2 separate regions of the Homo sapiens genome follow, and region 1 is linked to region 2. Evidence: promoter capture Hi-C in 16 types of primary human blood cells and fetal thymus (Javierre and others, 2016). All regions are on one chromosome and are shown on one strand. The core of a region is centred on a gene start or on the middle of the fragment in contact, and the rest is flanking DNA. Distances in the headings are between cores, read along the strand shown. Region 1 holds the start of C1orf115 (chromosome 1 open reading frame 115). Region 2 holds the start of BPNT1 (3'(2'), 5'-bisphosphate nucleotidase 1).

Evidence for each region. The method cuts DNA at HindIII sites, captures the fragments that hold promoters and counts their contacts. A CHiCAGO score of 5 or more calls a contact.
Region 1: a contact is called between the fragment with the promoter of C1orf115 here and the fragment with the promoter of BPNT1 in region 2, in 2 of 17 cell types (total CD4 T cells and erythroblasts). The highest score is 8.8, in total CD4 T cells.

What each region holds. Positions count from the first base shown.
Region 1 is chr1:220,687,914-220,691,951 of GRCh38, forward strand. It overlaps C1orf115 (chromosome 1 open reading frame 115), which reads left to right and starts at 2,450. Exons shown (of 2, transcript NM_024709.5): 1 at 2,450-2,798. The coding sequence starts at 2,490. RefSeq lists a silencer at 2,281-2,520. The HindIII fragment of the contact is 6,585 bases long and covers 1-4,038 here.
Region 2 is chr1:220,088,331-220,092,485 of GRCh38, forward strand. It overlaps BPNT1 (3'(2'), 5'-bisphosphate nucleotidase 1), which reads right to left and starts at 1,458. Exons shown (of 9, transcript NM_006085.6): 1 at 1,356-1,458. RefSeq lists an enhancer at 1,569-1,758. The HindIII fragment of the contact is 18,631 bases long and covers 1-4,155 here.

The DNA of each region.
Region 1 (4,038 bases), core at 1,200-3,699, 600 kb after region 2:
GGGAAACACGCAAACATGGCCAAAGAAGGAAGATGAGAGAGAGAAGGGGGAGGTGCACACCACCCACTTTTAAACGACCAGATCTCGCGATAACTCACTCACTATTACTAGGATAGCACTGAGGGGATGGTGCTAAGTCATTCATGAAGGGCCACCCTCATGATCCAATCACCTCCCACCAGGCCCCACCTCCAACAGTGGGGATTACAATTCAACATGAAATTTGGTGGGGACATAGAACCAAACTATATCACCATTTGATAAGCAGCCTAGGGTTCTTTGAGGTCGGTTTTGTACAAAAAAAAAAGGGACTACAAGGGTCTCTGTTTGTTTATAAAGTAATAGTTGCTTTAGCAAAATTACAAATCTACAAATCTACTTTCTCTTAACCTTTTAAATTCAAATTACATACTGTTTTAAACTATTTACTCACCCGATAAAATTTTACAATTACTGTAAGGAGGCACTTTTACTGTTTAGTTAATTCTCCTAAACATTTCAAGCAACTTTTACAAATTTAATATTTGACTTTCTTTTCAAGTACTTCAATTCTATAACAAAACTCTAAGTAATTCTTATAAATATAGTAAGTTAAATTCATTTTCATACCCATTTCACCTGAAATTGAATTGTACATAAATTTTATATACTATTTTACATATAAAGACTCTATGTTTTTAAGATTAAATATAAGTCATTACTTATTACCTTATTACATAAGTTAAATAAAAGCGTAAATCAATTAGCTGATTACTTTTTTTTTTTTTTTTGAGACAGAGTCTCACTCTGTTGCCCAGGCTGGAGTGCCGTGGCACGATCTCCGCTCACTGCAACCTCTGCCTCTTGGGTTTAAGCGATTCTCCTCCTCAGCCTGCCGAATAGCTGAGACTACAGGAGCACGCCACCATGCCTGGCTAATTTTTGTATTTTTAGTAGAGACAGGGTTTCACTATATTGGCCAGGCTGGTCTCGAACTCCTGACCTCAGGTGATCCACCGCCTTGGTCTCCCAAAGTGTTGGGATTACAGGTGTGAGTCACCGCACCGAGCCACACATTTTCACTTTTTTAGAAATGGGGCCTACGTTGCTCAGAACTCCTAGCCTCAAGGGATCCTCCCACCACAGCCTGTGGAGTTGCTGGGATTACAGGTGAAAGTCACCATGCTGGCTCACATTTTAAGTTGGAATCACAAAACTAATTTCTTTTGCATCCTAGTGAACTAAATTGTCGTAAACATTGTATGTGCTTATACCAACATATACACGTTATTCTTAAATTTAATCACAAACTTTAATGTTAAAATATCAGTGTATCTAACAATCTATGTTATTTTATACCTAAGTATTTTTTTGAGATGGGATCTCACTCTGTCGACCCCTTTGGAGCGCAGTGGCACAATCATAGCTCACTGCAATCTCCACCTTCCAGGATCAAGCGATCTCCCTACCTCACTGGGACTACAGGTAAACTTTTGTATTTGTTTTTCTATTTCTAGAGATGAGGTCTCCCTGTGTTGCCCAGGCTAGTCTCAAACTCCCAGGCCCAAGCGATCCTCCTGAATAGCTGGGATCACAGGTGTGCGCCCCTACGCCTGGCTAATTTTTTTTTTTTTTTCTAGAGATGGAGGTCTCACTATGTTGCCCAGGCTGTTCCCCAACTCCTGGGCTGAAGCTATCCTCCCGGCCTCTCAAAGTGCTGGGATTACAGGCGTGAGCCACTGCTTTCGGCCCTTAATTCTACATTAGCCAGAATTCAAAGGCATTTACCCACTTAAGAAAATAGGGCACTCTCAGCTTGTTGAGATTCACAGTACACTGATAATGCTTATCTCACAGAGAGATATTCCTGAAAATCATGATTTTAAAGACTGCGCCATATGCTGGCATGTCTGCACCAGAATTTCCTTTGCGCCTCCCTGTTGGTTTGCTCCACTTTTTCACTGAGTCAGACCGTTGAACACCGTGGACACACTGTCTTGCGTTTCCGAATATTTCCTAGAATACGGACGTTTCCTAAGACTCACGATAAAGATTTTCTGATCGTCTCTCCAAAACCTTGCCACCAATTTGCACTCCCACGAATCCTGTTACCGTGACTATCTCGCCATGCCCTCCCTAGCACTGAGCGTGATCTCTAGTATCATTTTCCATCGTTGCTAATTTGAACATGAGCAGATGGAGTCCTATTATTTGGGGTCATTAATTTCGTAGCAAGTGCAGTTGAAGGTGTTTTGCATGTTCATTGTGCAGTGCGCGCCGTAGTCTGCACAGTTTGGCCGGCAGGTGGGATGAAGGGCGGGGCTGGCGGAGCGCGCCCGCCGCCTGGTAGGCCAGTTCGGAGCGGAGCCAACGCTATCCCGGGCCCCACGGCCAGGGGGCGCTGCGGCCCCCCCAATCCCCCGCCCCGTCCGGGCTGGGGCGGAGGAGCGGGCGGGGACCAAAGGTTGGTGTCTTTGCGCTCGGACCTTCGCCAGAGGGGCCGGGACATCATGACGGTGGGAGCCAGGCTCCGAAGCAAGGCGGAGAGCAGCCTCCTGCGCCGCGGGCCCCGAGGGCGAGGGCGAACCGAGGGGGACGAGGAGGCGGCCGCCATCCTGGAGCACCTGGAGTACGCGGACGAGGCGGAGGCGGCGGCCGAGAGCGGGACGAGCGCGGCGGACGAGCGGGGCCCGGGGACCCGGGGCGCGCGGAGGGTGCACTTCGCCCTCCTGCCCGAGCGCTACGAGCCACTGGAGGAGCCGGCGCCGAGCGAGCAGCCCAGGAAGAGGTACCGGAGGAAGCTGAAGAAGTACGGCAAGGTAGGGGCCCTGCGCCACCACTGCCCGGGGGGCGCGGGTGTGGTGTCCCGCGGGGGAGCGGGAGCCGGGTCCTTACCATCGACTCACCCAGTTTCTCCGGGCTGCACCTGCGACCCCTCCGCCCCCGCTCCCATTCCCTCGCCGGAGGGAAGCCGCGAGTTGCGAGTCGTGATAGAAACTTAAATCGGGGGTTGCGCTGGGTGGTCCCTGCTGTGCCTGCTATTGCGCTCCTGGCTTCTTAAGAACATTCTCAAGGGGCTCCTACCGCGGTGGTTTTTATGTAAGATCAGGAATCAGTTTCCTGATTACAGATGGGAATACTGAAGCGTTAGCGCGGCAGGTGACTTGGAGAAGGTGGCCCAGTTGGAAAGAAAGAAATTGCAACCCAGTGTATTTGTTTTCCAGTAACATCCCCTCCAGGATATCCCACTAGTTGAGAAATGTTTGGGTTACTCTCCCAAATATTCCCAAGGTTATTTCCCGAGCCTGGGAGCGCAACAAATACATAAATAGGCGCTCGTTGAATTTTTCTCGTCTAGCCAACTATCAGTGTACTCTGGGGCCTTCAAAACATTCTGCCGTTTGTCTCGGGGAGATGGGGTTAGGAAGAATGAATATGGGAGAAAATGACAGTTTCCTTCGCGGAAATCAAAGCGCAGATGCAGTTCCCAGGTGTCTCTGCATGGAAACAGTCGAAGCTGCTGCCGGAAGCTCTGCTGGCCTGGACAAGGCCACCCAGAATAAAGTCACAGAAGTTACTGTGTCCTGGCCAAAGGCCACGGGCCCCATCTGATTTATTGTCTATTTATCTGTGTTGCCCAATGCCGTCTTACACCTGAAGCCATTCAGTCTCCATGCCTGGGAGCTTAGGTTTATCATCCTCTTTAAAGGTATGTCAGCAGCTTCTGGAGCAGAATACAGGCAGGGGTAAAACTATAAAGTTGGGTCTTTCAGGCTTAGAGCCCTGCTAGGACGATTCATCTCTGCTTTGGGTCCCAGTTGAGCACAAAGAAGCCATCATGTCCCTCTCCATTGGTGAACTGATACTGCAGAAACCTCAGCTCAAGGACTAGGACTTGAAGATATTTTGGGGGCACTCATTATGCGTCAGGCATTGTGCTGAGCAGTAGAGATGCGAAAATGAATACAGTGCAGCCCTGCCCTAGAGAAGGGCACAGCCTCCCAGGGAGACACTGACATAGCTGGCTCCCCCCGCCCCCGGGGGGGCTTCAGGGCACAG
Region 2 (4,155 bases), core at 208-2,707:
TAAAAATACAAAAATTAACCAGGCATAGTAATACAAAAATTACTCAGGAGGCTGAGGCAGGAAAATTGCTTGAACATAGGAGGCAGAGGTTGTGGTGAGCCGAGATCGCGCCACTGCAGTCCAGCCTGGGCGACAGAGACTCCGACTCAAAAAAAAAAAAAAAAAAAAAAATTGTCGCTGAATGCAGTGGCTCACACCCGTAATCCTAGAACTTTTTGGGAGGCCAAGGCTGGTGTATTGCTTGAGCTCAGGAGTTCGAGACCAGCCTGGGCAACATGGCAAAACCTCGTCTCTACAAAAAAATGCAAAAATTAGATGGTGTGGTGGCACATGCCTGTAGTCCCAGCTGCTCGGGAGGCTGAGGTGGGAGAATCACCAGACCCTGGGAGGTCAAGGTTGCAGTGAGACATAATGGCACCACTGTACTCCAGCCTGGGGGACAGAGCTAGAACCTGTCTTAAAAAAAAAAAAAAAAGAAAGAAAGAAAGGCTGGGCGCGGTGGCTCACGCCTGTAATCCCAGCACTTTGGGAGGCCGAGACGGGCAGATCACGAGGTCAGGAGATCGAAACCATCCTGACTAACACGGTGAAACCCCGTCTCTACTAAAAATACAAAAAAAATTAGCCAGGCTTGGTGGTGGGCGCCTGTAGTCCCAGCTACTCGGGAGGCTGAGGCAGGAGAATGGCGTGAACCTGGGAGGTGGAGCTTGCAGTGAGCCGAGATTGCACCACTGCACTCAAGCCTGGGCGACAGAGCGAGACTCCGTCTCGAAAAAAAAAAAAAAAAAAAAAAAAGAAGGAGGAGGAAGGAGGAGGAAGAAGAAGAAGAAAAAAGAAGAAAGAAGAAGAGTTTGTCCTTTGTCCAGTTTGCAAGGGTGTGAGGGAACATGTTCCTGAGCATTGTTGGCAAAGCGGTGAACCCTCTTAGGAGAGTTTTGAGAACCTTAATAAAAGTATAAAGTACGTATCTTTTGAACCAACAATTATATTTACAGAGAAATCCAAATAAATCACGCAAACCTATAAATATGTAGAAATGGCAGTTGGAAGAATATTTGCTGTTTAAAGAAATTTAATTTTAGGTACCAAGCAGTTTCTAAATTTGGGTGCATCAACAAACTCAATGTCTAGGTTTGTCTTGTTTCTACAGTATATGGCTATAAAAACCTTCCGGATCACGAAAATAAAAGCACAGATAAACAATTAAAATATCGACACTCAAGAGTCCAAGTCGGAAGTTAGAATATCTGGAGAAGCAATCTGATTCACATAAACCTTTTTCGTTTTATTTTTTTAACATAAATCCTATCTACCTGGCTCTTGCCCTGACCGGCCGGAGAGAAACGGTGACAAACCTGGAACAACGTTGGACCAAAGACACTTCAGGAGGAGCAAAAGCGCGTTATCGTAGACCCAGGTCCCTCGTTGTGTCCAGTACCGAGCTTTGGCACTGTCAATAAGTCTTTTGAGAAGGATGGCATCCCTACCTCAGCTACTGAGCATGCGGGAAACTGCGCGCAAGCGCACAACAGCGATTTCACACTGCCTCTTTAGACTCCTGATCCGCGGGAAAATTCCACTTGTCCGTGTTTTCTCCAAGCTCTCCGTAGGTGCAAGTCACCTGTTGCATTAAATAAAAGCGAAAGATGTGTCAACTTTCAAAGATTGGCTAAAAAAAGAAAAAGAAGAAGGAAAGAACACATTAAGCCAGCAACAGTGTGTTGAAACAAAAAAAAGATTGGTTTTGGTTTCAGCTGTCTTCCAGCCCACTTCGTAGAGTTCACTGTTTTAAAATGTTCTTTGTATTAGTGATACCACTCTGCGGCTATTTAACTTCGAACCCCTAGCGGTCCGTGGACAGGCTTCAGCAGGTCCACCACACACACCTCCACCTCCCACTCCCCACGCAATAACACAGCAACTTTATGCAGAATTGTGTCAAAGATGCTTGCTTACCTTTTTTTTTTTTTTTTTTTTTTTTTTTTTAAGCGATAGATAGCTTGCTCTGTCGCCCAGAGTCGATTACGGCTCACTGCTGCCTTCCCACTTCTAGGCTCAAGCCATCCTCCCGCCTCAGCCTTCCGTGTAGCTGGGACTACTGGTGGAGGTGCGCGCCACCACACCCAGCTAATTAAAATATTTTTTGTGTACAGATGGGATCTTTTACTGGGGGGCGTGGTTGGGGAAGGGGGCAGTGTCTCATCCTGTCGCCCAGGCTGGAGTGCAGTGGCGCAGTCTAGGTTCACTACAACCTCCTCCTCCTGGGTTCAAGCGATCCTTCCTCCTTAGCCTCCCAAGTAGCTAGGACTACAGGCGCGCCACCACGCCGGGCTAATTTTGTTTGTTTTTTAAGTAGAGACGGGGTTTCATCATATTGGCCAGGCTGGTCTTGAACTCCTGACCCCAGGTGATCTGCTCACCTCGGCCTCCCAAAGTGCTGGGATTACAGGTGTGAGCCACTGCGCCCAGCTTAAAAAGGCTTTTACGTCTTCATTTGATTTTCACAATAACTCTGTGAGTTAAGTAGACCCTTTTTGGGAAGTGGAAAAATATACATAACTTAAATTATATTACTTTAACCATATATATATATATATATATATATATATATATATATATACACACACACACACACACACATATATACATATATATATTTTTTGAGACGGCGTCTTACTCTGTCGCCCAGGCTGGAGTGCAATGGCTTGATCTCGGCTCACTGCAACCTCTGCCTCCCAGGGTTCAAGCTATTCTCCTGCTTCAGCCTCCTGAGTAACTGGGACTACAGGCGCACACCACCCAGCCCAGCTAGTTTTTGCATTTTTTTTTTTTTTAGTAAAGACGGGGTTTCACCATGTTGGCCAGGCTGGTCTCGAACTCCTGACCTCATGATCCGCCCGCCTCGGCCTCCCAAAGTGCTGAGATTACAGGCATGAGCCACTGCACCTGGCCATACTTTGGTTTTTATAATTAAATTGTATAATTACATGACAAGTACAAATGGCTTAAATAAAGACAAACATAATGCAAGGTAAGCTCAACAAGTGAGAATAGAAATCTGCAGTCATCCTAAAGAGTAGCCATCTCCCAAGTGTTCATTGTATCCTCTCATAGGTTTTACGAGAAAACGGCATAGTTGAATTCAGCAAGTTATGTAGAGGTTGGTTAGGAGAGTTTCTATGTAAATATATCTTTGTGCTCCTGGAAGACTATAGCTGTGATAGATCCCAGATGTGAAACCGTGGGTCAAAGATGAAGTGCATTTTATTTTATTTTTTGGAGATGGAGTCTCGCTCTGTCGCCCAGGCTGGTGTGCAGTGGCCTGATTTCTCACTGCAACCTGTGCCTCCTGAGTTCAAGCGATTCTTCTGCCTCAGCCTCCAGAGTAGCTGGGATTACAGGCGCCTGCCACCACTCCCGGCTAATTTTTTGTATTTTTAGTAGAGACGGGATTTCACCATGTTGGCCAGGTTGGCCAGGCTGGTCTCGAACTCCTGAACTCAGGTGATCCACTTGCCTCAGCCTCCCAAAGTGCTGTGGTTACAGGCGTGAGCCACCGCGCCCAGCTGAAGCGCATTTTAAATGGTGATGGATATTGCTAAATTGCCATTCGGAAATCTCCTGCCTCAGCTTCCCAAGTAGCTGGGACTACAAGCATGCGCCATCACACCCGGCTAATTTTGTATTTTTAGTAGAGATGGGGTTTCTCCATGTTGGTCAGGCTGGTCTTGAACTCCCGACCTCTGGTGATCCACCCACCTTGGCCTCCCGAAGTGCTGGGATTATAGGCATGAGCCACCGCACCTGGCCGACAGTACCTATTTAACACTACCATCAGCAGTCCACTTTCACACATTCTCCCAAGCCCTGTTATCAAACTTCTTTATTTTTGCTTTAATCTGCTGGAAAGAAAATGGTATTTTAACTGTCTATTCCCATGACTCCTAAAGTTGAGGATCTTTTTATGTTTATTAGCTGTTTCCACTTCTGTGTCTCTGAGTTGACTGTTCATTTCTTTTGCTTTATTATTATTATTTTGAGACAGGCTCTCACTGTGTTGCCCAGGCAGGAGTGTAGTGGTGTAATCATGGCCCACTTGCAGCCTTGACTTCCTGGGCTAAAGCGATCCTCCCACCACAGCCTCCAAAGCAGCTG